Regions from separate parts of the Homo sapiens genome. Here region 2 is linked to region 1. Evidence: promoter capture Hi-C in 16 types of primary human blood cells and fetal thymus (Javierre and others, 2016). All regions are on one chromosome and are shown on one strand. The core of a region is centred on a gene start or on the middle of the fragment in contact, and the rest is flanking DNA. Distances in the headings are between cores, read along the strand shown.

Region 1 (7,681 bases), core at 1,347-3,846:
ATCTGCACCATTTCTTTCCTCTTGGCTGTGACAGGTGAACTGTTCTAGCACAGACCAGGTCACTGCCTTGTGCCTTGAAGCTCAAATGATAAAACCTATGCCCTTCAGCCCAGCTGCTGGTCCTTTGGCAAACCAACCCCTGTGCCTGTGCCCCTCAGTGAAATATCTTCTGTCCCAAAGGGCTGCTGGCACACTGGCTTCATCTGCCTTGGTTTTTCTCAGATTCCACGCAGCTTTCTATCGGAGCATTAATGCATTTATTGGTTTACACATCCTTCTCTTTTTTCCAGATTGTGAGCCCCATAAGGTCAGGGACTGTGTCTTTATTTATCTCTGTATTCACAGGGCCTAGTGCAGGGATGGTACAGAATAGACATCTAGCAAATACCTAATCATCCCCCCCAAGTCCGTTTCTTCCTAGGAGAAAATGGAGGTAACAATATCCATCTTGGGGGACACCAGGAAGGTTAACTGAGATAATGTCTAAACCAGACTTAGCAGAGCACTCAGCACATACTAAGTACTCAATAAATGACATCACCTATGATTACTATTATTATGTTATACAATATTAGATACTCCAGGCCAGGTGTGGTGGCTCACACTTAGAATCCCAGTGCTTTGGAAGGACAAGGCAGGAGGATTACTTGAAGCCAGGAGTTCGAGACCAGCCTGGGCAACACAGTGAGATCCCATCTCTACAAAAAAATTTCTTTAAAAATTAGCCAGACATGGTGGCATACCTGTAGTCCTAGCTACTTGGGAGGCTGAGGTGGGAGGATTGCTTCAGCCCAGGAATTTGAGGTTGCAGTGAGCTATGACTGCGCCACTGCATTCCAGCCTGGACAACAGACTGAGAGTCTGCCTCTAAAAAATTTAATTTAGTTAAAATTAATTAAAAAAAATTTTTTTTTGAGACAGAGTTTCGCTCTTGTTGCCCAGGCTGGAGTGCAATAGCATGGTCTTGGCTCACTGCAACCTCCGCCACCTGGGTTCCAACGATTCTTCTGCCTCAGCCTCCCGAGTAGCTGGGATTACAGGTGCCCGCCACAACATCCAGCTAATTTTTGTATTTTTAGTAGAGATGGGGTTTCACCATGTTGGCCAGGATGGTCTCGAACTCCTGACCTCGTGATCTGCCCACTTCAGCCTCCCAAAGTGCTGGGATTACAGGTGTGAGCCACCACGCCTGGCCTAATTTAAAATTTTTTAATTAAAAAAATTAATTTACATTTAAATCCTGACTTTTGCTATGGTAGGAATGAACTTTACTATTCCTTGTCTCATGAACTGGGAGTGACTAAATGTGTCCCTAGTTGCAGTATTATTTTTTGTTTTCTTATTTCTATTTTAGATTAAATCAGACAACATGTGCATGCTTTACCTATAAAGTTTCTCTCAATTCTTGGACAAAGATTCACTCAAATGAGCTGGAAGGTGAGAGGTTAAGAAGGCAGAAGCCTGGGAGTCACACAGAAACACATTACAGATGTCATGTCCCTGGGCTGAGTTTAGAAAAGACAAGATGTTTGCCAGGCAGAAAGAGGGCATATTGGAAATAGGCTGGCAATCCCAGTGGTTAGAGGAGCAGGAGGCAAAGGTTCAGAGGCAGCATAATAGAAGCGCCTATCAAATTATCAAATTAATAGTTCCACAAAGCTTGTTACAAAAAATTGCACTCCTCTAGGCCCATTTTCCTTTTCCCTCACAACACTTTTCTCTTTTTCCTCTGTCCAATACTTACAGCATTTAATGTGTTGATACATCTGTCTTCCCTCTACCAGATGGTGACTCCCTTGAGAACAGGGACTGTGTCTTATCTACTGTTAATTACCCAGTGTCTACAGCAGAGAACTTCGGAAACCTTTCTAAACCTGGGCTTGCTGCTGCGTAAAATGCAGTGGATAATCCCTACTTCATACGGCTGGTATGAAAGTTTTACCTTTGTATGAGGTCATATTTGTAACATACTTACCAGCATGCACGTAATAAAATACTGAAAGAGTAAATCTATGAATAAATGTAGTGACCCAAGCACCAACTCTCTACTCCTGCTTTTCACTCAGCCTAGGAAAAACTACAACGGAATCCTTCCCCTATGGAGAAATCATGATTCCTATTTCTGTCTTTGGCCACAATTTTCTTATTTTCTTGTTCCACTCCACCTCGTAGCAGAAATATCACGGATTCTGTAGGCGCTTCCTGGTTCTAGGTTGTGGAGCTCCTCAGGGCTTGGAAGTGAGTGGAAAGAAATGTTCAACTTCTGTTTCTCTTCTCTTTCCCTCTCCTCCTTTCCCCTCCTGTGGGGGAAACAAACGAACAAAAACAAAAATTAATTTAAAAAATGTAATTTCTTCAAAGACTTTGCACGTGAGCAGTGGCGTGGCCAGTGGTGATCCTTGTGTGCATGGAATATTGAGGGCGTGCTCCTGCCTCCAGAGAAAGTGGTCGAGCAGGACAGCTGGCATCCACGGCTTCCACATCCCCAGTGCCTCCATCCTTCATCTTTCACCAGTACTGACAGGAACACTGCTGTGTCGGATCTGAACTGGGCCCCAAAAACCTCTAGGTAGCAGGCAGGTACTACTCCATTGGAGGTGACATCCCTCTGGTGACGCTGAAAACCTGGATTGTGTTTTCTAACTCTGTCTATCTGCTTCACACCTCCAGATGTGAATCTTCAGAATATTATTTGCTGGGCTATGGGATGGAGACTAGTCTCACAAGCCTAAAGGACTTCCTTTAATATTTCACGAAAGCATTACATTTATTTTTTTCTTTCTTTTTTGGGACGGAGTATCGCTCTGTTGCCAGGCTGGAGTGCAGTGGCGCGATCTCAGCTCACTGCAACCTCTGACTCCCGGGTTCAAGTGATTTTCCTGCCTCAGCTTCTCAAGTAGCTGGGATTATAGGCATGCACCACCATGCCCAGCTAATTTGTTTTTTGTATTTTTTTTTTTAGTAGAGACAGGGTTTCACTATGTTGACCAAGATAGTCTCAATCTCCTGACCTCGTGATCCGCCTGCCTTGGCCTCCCAAAGTGCTGAAATTACAGGCATGAGCCACTGTGCCTGGCCTACACTTCTTCTATTTAGGTTCACTGTCCGTATTTGGAAAGAACATGCTACAACTTGAAGGAGAGATCACAAGATATACTAAAAAATATTTTGAAATAAAAACAAAAACATAACACAATAAAACTTATGGAGTGCAGCAAAAGCAGTGCTAAGAGGGAAATTTATAGCCATAAATGCCTATGTTTTAAAAACAAGAAACATCTCAAATCAATAACTTCACTTTATGACTTATGGGCCTAGCAAAAGAAGCACAAACTAAATCTGAAGCTGGTAGAAGGAAGGAGATTAAGATTAGAGCAGAGGACGTGAAATAGAGAATAGAAAAAATAGAAAGTCAATTGAAAGAAACAAAATGTTAGTTATCAACAAAATTAACAAACTTTGAGTTTGAATGACTACCAAGAAAAGGACACACATAGATGAAAGTGAGAACATGATTACCGACCTTACAGAAATAAAGCTTGTAAGAGAATACAAATGCCAATAAATTATATAGCCTATATGAAATGGAAAACTAGAAATACACAAATTACCAAAACTGACTCAAGAAAAAAATAAAAATTCTGCATAGACTTATAACAAATAAAACGATTGAATCAATAATCAAAAATCTCCCTTTGAACAAAGAAAAGTGAAAGACTACAGGGCTTCATTTGTGAATTCTACCAAACCATTAAGGAAGAATTAACACCAATTCTTCTCAAGCTCTTCCAAAAAATAGAAGAGGTAACAGTATTTCATAGCTCATTTTATGGGGCCAGCATTATACTGATACCAGAACTAGACAAAGAAATGACAAGAAAAGAAATTATAGACCACTCTTCCTTAAGAATACAAATGCAGAGATCTTCAACAAATACTAAAATATTAAAAGGATTATACACTAGGAACAAGTGGGATTTATCCCAGGTAGTTCCCCTCAGTGAAACATAAATCGATCAGTGTATAGAGCACAATAAAAGAATGAAGGGAAAACCCTACATAATTATCTCAAATGATGCAGAGAAAGCATTTGACAAGAACCAACAGCATTTCATGATAATAAACAATCAGAAAAATAGGAATAGGATGGAATTACTCCAACATGATTATGGACATTTATGATAAACCCACAGATAACAGCACACTCAATGGTTAAAGACTGAAAGCCTTTCCCTAGGACCAGGGACAGGACAAAATGCCTCCTTTCATGGCTGGTATTCCACTTTGTATCAGAAGCTCTAGACAGATAATTAGGCAAGAAATGAAAGGCATCCAAATTGGAAATGAAGAAGTAAAACTATCTTTATTTACAGATAGCATGATTCTATACGTTGAAAATGCCAACACAGCAAGACCCTGTCTCTACAAAGAAATTTTAGCCAGGCGCGGTGGCTCATGCCTGTAATCCCAGGACTTTGGGGGGCCGAGGTGGGTGGATCACCTGAGGTCAGGAGTTCGAGACCAGCCTGGCCAACATGGTGAAACCCCATCTCTACTAAAAATGCAAAAATTAGCCGGGCGTGGTGGTGCACACCTGTAGTCCCAGCTACTCAGGAGGCTGAGGCAGGAGAATCATTTGAACCCGGGAAGTGGAGGTTGCAGTGAGCCGAGATTGCACCACTGCACTCCAGCCTGGGTAACAGAGTGACTCTGTCTAAAAAAAAAAAAAAAAAAAAAAAAATGCTGGGCGCAGTGGCTCACGCCTGTAATCCTAGAACTTTGGGAGGCCGAGACGGGTGGATCACGAGGTCAGGAGTTCGAGACCATCCTGGCTAACAGTGAAACCCCGTCTCTACTAAAAATACAAAAAAAAAAAAAAATAGCCAGGTGTGGTAGCAGGTGCCTGTAGTCCCAGCTACGTGGGAAGCTGAGGCAGGAGAATGGCATGAAGCTGGGAGGCGGAGGTTGCAGTGAGCCAAGATCGCGCCACTGCACTCCAGCCTGGGCGATAGAGCAAGACTCCATCTCAAAAAAAAAAAAAAAAGAAAAAAAGAAGAAGAAGAAAGCTGTTATAGGTTTTGGGGAATATGTTCCCCAAAAGACATGTTAAGGTTGTAAACCCCAGTACCCGTGAATAAGACCTTTTTTGGAAATAGTCTTTGCAGATGTAATCAAGTTCAATGAAGACATTAGGGTGGGCCTTTATCCAATATGACTGCTGTCTTTAGAAGAATAGATGCAGACAGACATGAAGAAGGCCAGGTGATGACAGAGGCAGAGATTGGAGTGAGGCCTCTACAAGCCAAGGACAGCCACGGACTGCTGGCAACCGCACGAAGCTAGGGAGAGGCAAAGGAAGACTACCCTGAACCCCGCACAGGAAGCATGGCCCTGCTGACACCTTGACTTTGGACTTCGGCCTCCAGAACTGTGAGAAAATACATTTACGTTGTTTGAAAAAGAAAAGAAATATATATACAGATGCCAAGAGGAGAATGAAGAAAGATAAGAAAATTAAAGGATCAGTCCAGCAGGTCTGACAATTGACTATCATAGTTCCAGAAATAGCAAAGAAAATGAAGGAAATTTTCTAAGAAATAATACAAGCAAAATTCTCAGAATTGAAGGACTCTACCCTCTGGACTGAGAGCACTCCCGACCTCAGTGACGCATATTAAGAAAAGGACTCATACCAAGGTATATCATTGTGAAACTTCAGGATACTAAGAATGAAGACAATATCCTAGAAGTTCCCACAGCTGGGAAGACAGTGACCCACAAAGCCATAGGAATCAGAATAGCGTGAGACTTCTCAACAGTAAAAGCAGCAGGCAGGAAAAATTCTCCAAAATTCTGTAGAATATTGACTTTTAACTTAGAATTTTATTTCCAGCAAAACATTTGCCAAATATCAATCAAGAACAAAGACATTTTTTCATGTCTGTAATCCCAGCACTTTGGGAGGCCAAGGCGAGAGGACTGCTTCAGCTCGGGAGTTCGAGACCAGCCTGGGCAACACAGCAAGATCTCATCTCTTAAATAATTATTTTAAAAATAGAACAAAGGGCCGGGAATGGTGGCTCACACCTGTAATCCCAGGGCTTTGGGAGGCTGAGGCGGGCGGATCACCTGAGGTCAAGAGTTTGAGACTAGCCTGGCCAACATGGTGAAACCTCATCTCTGCTACACAAAACAAAACAAAACAAAACAAAACAAAAAAACGAAAAAAATTAGCTGGGCATGGTGGCACGCGCCTGTAGTCCCAGCTACTCAGGGAGGCTGAGGCAGGAGAACTGCTTAGACCCAGGAGGAGGAAGTTGCAGTGAGCCAAGATTGTGCCACTGCACTCCAGCCTGGGTGACAGAAGGAGACTCCATCTCAAAAAAAAAAAAAAAAAAAAAAAGATGTTTTGGATATGCAAAGACTCAAATAATTTCCCATATACCTTCGTTTTGGGAACTGCTAGAAGATGTGCTCCAGCAAAGTGGACATGGCTTTTTAGGTCAGGACTATAAGGAGACAGACTTGGGCTGTCCATGGCCCTGAGGCAGAGGCAGCTTGAAAAAGAAGTCAGCCCACAGAAGGGAAGAGGATCAAGAGACAGACAGAGAAAGAGCCTGAAAATATCAAGCTGTCAGGTCTAATATGCCTGCAGATGGCCTATCATGACCTTCCCAGTTATTTAAGCTGCTACATTCTCCTTCCATTTAAGCTAGTTTGAGCTGGCTTCCTGGCACATGCAACCAAGGAGCTCTGTCTCATACAGTTCATGAAGTACATAGGCCAACACTTGGTACAGAGGAAGTACAAAATCATTAGTAGCCCTTACTACTACCAATAATAACACTAAAACTAAAATGAGAGTGGTGTGAGTAATACATAAAAGTAAGTGAACTTTTTTTTTGAGACGGAGTCTCATTCTGTCTCCAGGATGGAGTGTAGTGGCGTGATCTCGGCTCACTGCAACCTCCAGCTCCCGGGTTCAAGCGATTCTCCTGCCTCAGCCTCCCGAGTAGCTGGGATTACAGGCACGTACTGCCATGCCCAGCTAATTTTTGTATTTTTAGTAGAGATGGGGTTTCACCATGTTGGCCAGGATGGTCTCGATCTCCTGACCTCATGATCCGCCCACCTCGGCCTCCCAAAGTAGTGGGATTACAGACGTGAGCCACAGTGCCTGGCCATAAGTGAACTTTTATATGCTCTTTCCTGTGTTTTAAGAATTTTCCAGCCTGGGCAACATAGTGATACCCCCAACTCTACAAAAATAAAAAATGAGCTGGGCATGGTGGCACACACCTGTGGTCCCAGCTACTCAGGAGGCTGAAGTGGGAGGATTGCTTGAGCCCAGGAGGTGGAGGCTGCAGTGAGCTATGATGGCACCACTGCACTCAGCCTTGAGGAGAGAGTGAGACTCTGTCTCAGTAAAATAAAATAAAATAAAATAATTATTATTCTTACATGTTCACACTTCTACCTTTCCCATGGTTTTTGTTCGAACAACCCTTAAACTCAATTTCTCTTTGGAGACTTCCCTTAGTTTTCTTGTCAGGTGATTCCTCATTGACGGCTGAAGGTGGGATGAACATGTGGTTTGCCTTTTTTGTATCTGCTGCTTTTGGATCAATATTCTTCATTTCCCTGGGAGGAAAACACAGAGACATATGGAAAAAGGCTGGAG
Region 2 (7,681 bases), core at 1,772-4,271, 310 kb before region 1:
CATGTCACATCCTTCCAGAAACTTTCAAGGCCTCCCTGTTGACATCAGGATCAAGTTCAAACTCCTTGGCGGGGCCTCCAAAGGTCTTCAGGACACAGACCCAACACAGTCACAGGCAGTTCAAGCCTCTGCGTCTGAGAGGTGAGGCAGCTCAGACCTCCACATCTGCCCGGAGTTCCCTCTACCTGGAACGCCCTCCTTCTCCTTCATAGGTGGAGCACCCCTCGTCCTTCAGGGCCAAGACGACTTCCAGCACCCCAGGGTTATGGGGGAGGAGCATGGGCTCTGAGGTCAGACCTACTGGTTCAAAACTCAGCTGTTCCACTCTCTGCTGCCTCCCCTACAAAATGCAGACAGTGACAGCCCCCACCACACTGGGTGGTAGGAAAATTAAATACAGTAATTCATGAAAGCGCTTTGAACTGTGCCTGGCACACAGTAAGTGCTCAATAAACGGACTGTTGTTCCTATTGTCCTCTGGGCCCCTTTAGGGCCCTCTGTTTCCACCACAAGTAGGGCACTGTCTTGCACATATTTGTTACACATTGGGCTCCCTCTGCCAACCACCTTTTAGAGGGCTGCCCCAGCACAGTGCAGGGCAGCATGGTCTTCGGTGAGTGCTTACTACCCGGGGCTGCAGGGCCTGGTGCAGACCCCACACAGAGCTCTCCCAGGGGCCCAGCTATTGGCCTTCCAGAACTCCCACACCAGATCCCCAGTCTAAAGGCCCAGAGCTGTGACTCGTTTTCAAAACAATAAAAAGCTGTACCCTGCCTTGCCGGGGCTGTTTCCACTCCAGGGAATTTACAGAGAGAAAATGAGCACAGCAGGGACTGGAAATAGCTCTGAGCCCTTCTCAGGGTGAGGGACTGGGCAGGCCAGCCAGAGACCAGGAGCAAAACCTCTAAGACAGAGAGGGAGCAAACAGCCTCCGGACAGAAGCCCCTGCTCACAGAACTCGGCCAATAGGAAAGAACTAGGACAAGTGGCTCATTCACCCTTCTGCCTCGAAGCTCTTCTTTCTACTTGGTTGGAGAAATTCAGAAGGGGCTCTTTGAATAACCCACCACCACCGTGGGTGCAACAAATAAGACATCCAGAATCCCAACGACTGCACAAATGCTTTGGGGGAATTCACAGCGCCTTCTCCACCCACATTAGCTATTGGAGCCTCGTATCCAGATTGGGGTCACTAAATCAGTGTCCATCTTCCCAGCACTGGGAGCCCCTAGAAGGCAGGCACCAGGTCCCATTGATCATCAGACCGCTATGCCCCAGCATAGTGCCTGGCACATAGTAGATGCTCAGTAAGTTGCAAGACAAGATCTGGCAGCAAGAGAGAGGTCCTGGTTAAAGGATGATTCCATCCAGGCTTGCCACGTATCGTGGAGAAGAACGTCATGAATTCCCTCTGGGCCTCAGTTTACCGCATCTGCAAATAGGGACAACTGTTCCTTACTCACACAGCTGCTGTGCAAATTACACAGGAAAATATATGTGGAAAGCAGAAAAGCCTCAGATGAACGTCAGTCATCCTTCAGGCTTCAGCTCAACCGTCTCCTTATGAGGGAGTCTTTCCTGCGGCCACGATCCCCCTCCCCGGGAACTGAACCTGCCTCTGTACTCCTTCTACTCCTTTGTTTGGTATTTTTCACATCATCGTGATCACCTGTTTCCAAATCTGATTCCCCCATGCTTGAGAGCTCCTTGATGGCTTGGGCATCAAATGTTTCTGTCCAGGTGGGCACACATACCTGGCTGCTGGGGCTCTCCCACCCCAGCGTCCCAGGTCCCAACTCTGATACGCACAGCACCCTAGGCAAGGTTCAGAGGTGCAGAGCCTAGGGGTTCTACCAAGGAAGCTAAATAGGTAGATGGAAAGGGACACTGTAGGCATAACCTGTCAACGAAGTCACACCTCTGAGACCTGCGCTGCCTCTGCAGGTGCAGGTGAGCTTGTTTGCCTGGCTGACTCTGCAGCGCAGGGCCTCCAGGGCACAGATTGCTGCTTCTTTCCTTACAAAAGCACCAGCAGTCAGATAAATAATACATGGCCTTCACCTCACCACAGGTATCAGGCATGCAAATACCTGCTTTGCCCCAAAATGCCCTGGAAAGGAGGGAGGAGTAAAACGTCTGGCCTTATACAACACCTCCAGAGGGGATATGTATTGGGAATCCATGCCCAACCCCCAGCATAACTGCCTTGCCTTGGCCTGGAGCCACCCAGCACTGGAGGTAAGTGGATCCAAGCGAGGTACCAAGGGTGTGCCCAGGAGGAAATGTACAATTCACGGGAAGGATACAGACACCCAAAACCAGTCTCCACGGTCCCTTTGGGGGCAAACATCTTTCGAGCCCCAGGTCCCAGTCGATCCCCTTCCAAACCTGCGGACCTGTGTGGCGGGCGTGTACACCCTCCACTCACGACGCAGCCCCGAAAGCCCCCCGCCGACCACCCTCCCAGGTCACTGCCACCCGCACAGGGCACGGACGCCTCCCCCACTCACTCGGCCGTGCCAGTCGCCAGCACACCCACCCGGGAGCACACAATCCCTCTTGCAAAGCGCCTTGGTCCATCCGCCTCCCTCTCCCGGGGCCGCCCCCCGGACAGGTCCGATTACACTCCAGGAGCTGCCCCCGCCACGTTGGCGTGGAAAGGGAGCGGGCACACCCACGGGCGACCTCGCGGGGCGGAGAGGAGGCACGGGTGGGGAGACGGATGCCCCCTCCCTCCGCGGCCGCACCGGCCTCCGTAGTGCCCTCCCCGCCCGGGAGCCGGCGGCCGAAGCCGGGCGTCCCTCGCGCGGGCCTCTCCGAAACAAGCAGCCCCCCGCGCTCGGGAGTCGCAGCTCCCCCTTGGGGCTCCCGGGCGAGGCCGGCCAGGCGGGATACCTCAGGAGCCCATGGCGGTGGCGGCGTCTGCGGACGATGCGCGGCAGCCGGACTCTGCGGGCGGGGCGGGCGGCGCCGCAGCCCCGGAGTCTCCGCCGCCGCCGGCGCGTCCCGGGCCCAGTGGAGTGCAGCCGCGGCGCGCATGCGCTCTGGGCTCGCCGCCGGGGAGGGCGGGGCGGCGGACGCGGCTGAGATCACTGCCTGGGCCTTAAAGGGGCCGCGCCCCGAACCCCAGCCCGCCGCCCCGAACCCCAGCCCGCCGCCCCGCGGGTTGGGGCGCGACCCGGGTTCTCTTGCCACTCACAAAACCAGCTACGACCGGCCCCCAACCGCGAGAGCTTTCTGGGCTGCGATCTCTGCCCCTGACCCTCGCTGGTGCTTCACTTCTTTTAACCCTAATTTCCTCCATTTGAGCCTGTTTTGAAGATGAAACGAAATACAATGGCTATTTGTTGAGTGAAGGATGCGTGTGGAATTGTGGAATGAACGTGGACCGAGTGTTGTGTGCAATTAGGCCAGATGAAATGGCAAAGCACTGAAAGAGGCCTTTTTTTCCCACTCCGCTTAGCAGCGATTCTTTCTTGCCCCGTCTGGCTCTAGGCTGCCGAACTAGCAAAAGTCTTCAGATAGGGTTCAAGCCGCCTAGTCCATTTCTGTTTGCCGGTCCAGACATCACCTAGGTTAACTGAACAAGATAAAATGCAATTAAGTTCTGGCATTGATGTGCTCAAGATCCCCAAATGTATTTATGTCTCCAGACTCCTCGCCTGAACTGTCTACCCAACACCTCTTCCTTGGAGCTCCAGCAGGCATCTCAAAGTCAGCGTGTCTGAGCTGAGCCAACCCCACTTCCACACACAAAAACCTGCTCCCTCTCAGCTTTGCCTCCATCAGCTGTTGACAATTCCATCCTTCCAGTCCCCAGGCCAGAACTCGGAGTCAGCTGTGAATGAATGCCCCCCTTCTGCCCGCTACCCAATAAGGCAGGCAGGAGATCCTGTTGGCTCTACCTGCAAAATAGATCTAGACTCAGATGTCTGCCACTCCTCCTCCAGTGCTACCACCCTGGTCCAGTATTTGCACAGGATTATTGCAGAGTTCTGCTAACCCCTCTCCCTTGTTCCAGCCTTGCCCTCTGATCCATTCTATCAATTCAGGGGTGAGGGAGATCCTTTTTTTTTTTTCTCTTTTTTCTTTTTGAGACAAAGTCTCGCTCTTTGTCTCAAAGTTGCCCAGGCTGGAGTGCAGTGGCGCGATCTCGGCTCACTGCAAGCTCCGCCTCCCGGGTTCACGCCATTCTCCTGCCTCAGCCTCCCGAGTAGCTGGGACTACAGGCGCCCGCCACCATGCCCAGCTAATTTTTTGTATTTTTAGTAGAGACGGGGTTTCACCGCGTTAGCCAGGATGGTCTTGATCTCCTGACCTTGTGATCCGCCTGCCTCGGCCTCCCAAAGTGCTGGGATTACAGGCGTGAGCCACCACGCCCAGCCAAGATTCTTTTAAAATCTGCCGGGCACGGTGGCTCACGCCTGTAATCCCAGCACTTTGTGAGGTCGGGTGGCTCATTTAAGGCCAGGAGTTACAGACCAGCCTGGCCAATATGGTGAAACCTTGTCTCTGCTAAAAATACAAAAATTAGCTGGGTGTGGTGGTACATGCCTGTAGTCCCAGCTACTCTGGAGGCATGAGAATTGCTTGAACCCGGGAGGCGGAGGTTGGGTTGTGGTGAGCCAAGATCGTGCCAATGCACACCAACCTGGGTGACAAAATGAGAATCTGTCTCAAAAAATAAAATAAAATCGAAGTCAAAACATGGTACTTTTTTGCTCAAAACCCTCCATTGGCTCACTGTTTCGCTCTAAGTAAAAGCCTTACAAGTCCTTACAAACACTTGATCTGACATTCTACTCTCCTGGGGATTCCTGATCTCATTCATCTCTTACCCTTTCCCTCCACACTGATCCCTTGCTGTTCCTAGAACAAGCTGAGCACACTCAGCCCCGAGCCCCCTGCACTAGCTGTTCCCTCTGCTGCGATCGCTGTTTCCCCAGATACCTGAATGGCTCCTCCATCACCTTCTTCAAGGGTTTGCTCGAATGTCCTCCACTTAGTGAGGCCTGCTGTGAGCACCCCTAGTAAAACTACCAGACCCCTCACATGCACTCTGTATTTCCCTTTACCGTGCCCTACTTTCCCTGTCACTTCATTTCTTTCTTTCTTTCTTTTTTTTTTTGAAGCGGAGTCTCGCTCTGTCACCCAGGCTGGAGTGCAATGGTGCTATCTCGGCTCACTGCAAGCTCCGCCTCCCGGGTTCATGCCATTCTCCTGCCTCAGCCTCAGAGTAGCTGGGACTACAGGCGCCCACCACCATGCCTGGCTAATTTTTTGTATTTTTAGTAGAGACGGGGTTTCACCGCGTTAGCCAGGATGGTCTCGATCTCCTGACTTCGTGATCCGCCTGCCTCAGCCTCCCAAAGTGCTGGGATTACAGGCGTGAGCCACCCTGTCACTTCATTTCTATCATATTATATAGTTTGCCTGTTTCCCTGTGTGTCTTCTTCTAGTAGAACACAAAATTTTTCGGTTTTGTTTTTTTGTTTTTGAGACAGTCTCTGTCACCCAGGCTGGAGTGCAGTGGCACAATCTCAGGTCACTGCAACATCCGCCACTCAGGCTCAAGTGATCCTCCCACCTCAGCCTCCTGGTTAGCTGGGATTATAGGCATGTGCCACCATACCAGGCTAATTTTTGTATTTTTTTTTTTTTTTTTTTTTTTTTGTAGAGATGGGGTTTCGCTATGTTGCCAGGGCTGGCCTCAAACTCCTGGGCTCAAAGCAATTGCCCGTCTAGACCACTCAAAGTGCTGAGATTACGGGTGTGAGCCACTGTGTGCCTGGCCAATAAATTCTGAAGAGAAAGATTTTCATCCTTTTTGGCTTTTTTGTTGTTGTTGTTGTTTGAGATGGAGTCTCACTCTGTCACCCAAGCTGGAATGCAGTGGTGCAATTTTGGCTCACTGCAGCCTCAACCTCCCAGGTTCAAGCGATACTCTTGCCTGTGCCTCCCAAGTATCCTTTTTGTTTTCTGATGTAATCCCAGTACTTAGTACAGGGTCTGGCATAGAGAACATGCCCCCGCAAAAGTAGGTATAACATGACCAGAGATCTGGTAATAGCAAAATCCTATAGAACGATTCCTCCCCAGCCCCAGGTAGGACATGCCTGGGTCTGTCCTAACAAGAGTAAGGCTTATCAATTGCATTGTAACTTGTTTATGACTTCCCAGCTCTCCCTCCCTACACACTAACCCCTTCAGGAGGAAGTCTTTGTCCCAATTACCCACCATATCTGCAATGTGTAGTACAAGACACTTACAGACCAGACACAACCTGACTTACACTTCCCCTCCAGGGCTTTCAGTTCAGGGTCTTGGTTTCTGCTTAGGGGCACTCTTGGGTCTCAACTTACAGAGGCCCCGGGCTGGCAGGGGACAGAGGCAGGTGGTGGGTATTTTTAGGCTTGGTTGCCCGGAAGGGGCTCAAAGACAGAAAGTCACCTGGTCTGAGTGATATGGCAGGTCAGCAGGTGGTATTGGGGGCCCTAGTTGGTGCTCCCTGTGGGAGGAAAAAAGCCCTCTCAAGACCTTTACTCAGGTTTTCCAAAATGAAGATAAACACCTACCTTGCTATCTTCCCTCTCACCCCTCCTCCATGCAACTACCCATCCTTTCTTTCTTGGGTTTTGCTCTCTCACCCAGGCTGGGGTGCAATGGTTTGATCATAGTTCATTGCAGCCTCAAACTCCTGGGCTCAAGCAATCCTCCACCTCTGCCTCCCAAGTAGCTAGGACTACATGGGCATACCATCACGCTCAGCTAATTTTCTATTTATTTATTTATTTATTGACAGAGTCTTGCTCTGTTGCCCAGGCTGGAGTGCAGTGGCGCGATCTCGACTCCCTGCAACCTCCCAGGTTCAAGCGATTCTCCTGCCTCAGCCGCCCGAGTAGATGGGATTATAGGCACGCGCCACTACGACCAGCTAATTTTTTTTTGTATTTTTTTAATGGAGACAGAGTTTCACCATGTTGCCCAGGGTGTTCTCAAACTCCTGAGCTCCGGCAATCCGCCCACCTTGGCCTCCCAAAGTGCTAGGATTACAGGCGTGAGCCACTGCACCTGGCCTAATTTTCAATGTTTAATGGTTTTATAGAGACTGGGTCTTGAACTCCTGGCCTCAAGCAATCTTCCTGCCTCTGCCTTCCAAAGTGTTGGGATTACAGATGTGATCAGCATGCCTGGCCTATTCTTTCTAACAAGGCTCAAAGATTCCACCTAAATGTGTCCGCTTTCCCCTCCACTGCCCTGGTTCAGTCTGACTTAACTTCTGGACAATTATAATGGTTTCCCAGGCCCCCAGCCTCACCTTTCCCCCTGCCCACAGGCTAATGAAGAAAGAATGCTTTTCTCAATGACCAGCTCCACCCCTTTGAACTCAACTCAGCAAACAGCTACTCCTATTCTCCCTTCAAGGACCAAATCAGATATCACCTTTTGGTTCCTTCTTTTTTTTTTTGAGACAGAGTCTCGCTCTGTCGCCCAGGCTGGAGTGCAGTGGCGTGATCTCGGCTTACTGAGAGCTCCACCTCCCGGGTTCATGCCATTCTCCTGCCTCAGCCTCTGGAGTAGCTGAGACTACAGGCGCCGGTCACCGTGCCCGCCTAATTTTTTGTATTTTTAGTAGACACGGGGTTTCACCGTGGTCTCGATCTCTGACCTCGTGATCTGC

What was found. The method cuts DNA at HindIII sites, captures the fragments that hold promoters and counts their contacts. A CHiCAGO score of 5 or more calls a contact.
Region 2: a contact is called between the fragment with the promoter of TMEM184B here and a fragment that was not itself captured in region 1, in 3 of 17 cell types (M2 macrophages, M1 macrophages and M0 macrophages). The highest score is 5.8, in M2 macrophages.

Annotation. Positions count from the first base shown.
Region 1 is chr22:38,583,900-38,591,580 of GRCh38, forward strand. It overlaps FAM227A (family with sequence similarity 227 member A), which reads right to left. Exons shown (of 17, transcript NM_001013647.2): 16 at 7,536-7,641; 17 at 1-2,300. The coding sequence ends at 2,226. Among named protein-coding and RNA genes, the nearest start is that of DMC1, 18 kb to the left of the region's middle. RefSeq lists a silencer at 1,712-1,912. The HindIII fragment of the contact is 1,879 bases long and covers 1,658-3,536 here.
Region 2 is chr22:38,269,989-38,277,669 of GRCh38, forward strand. TMEM184B (transmembrane protein 184B) reads right to left here and starts at 3,022. Exons shown (of 9, transcript NM_012264.5): 1 at 2,896-3,022. RefSeq lists an enhancer at 1,773-2,482 and a silencer at 2,545-3,174. The HindIII fragment of the contact is 13,147 bases long and covers 1-7,681 here.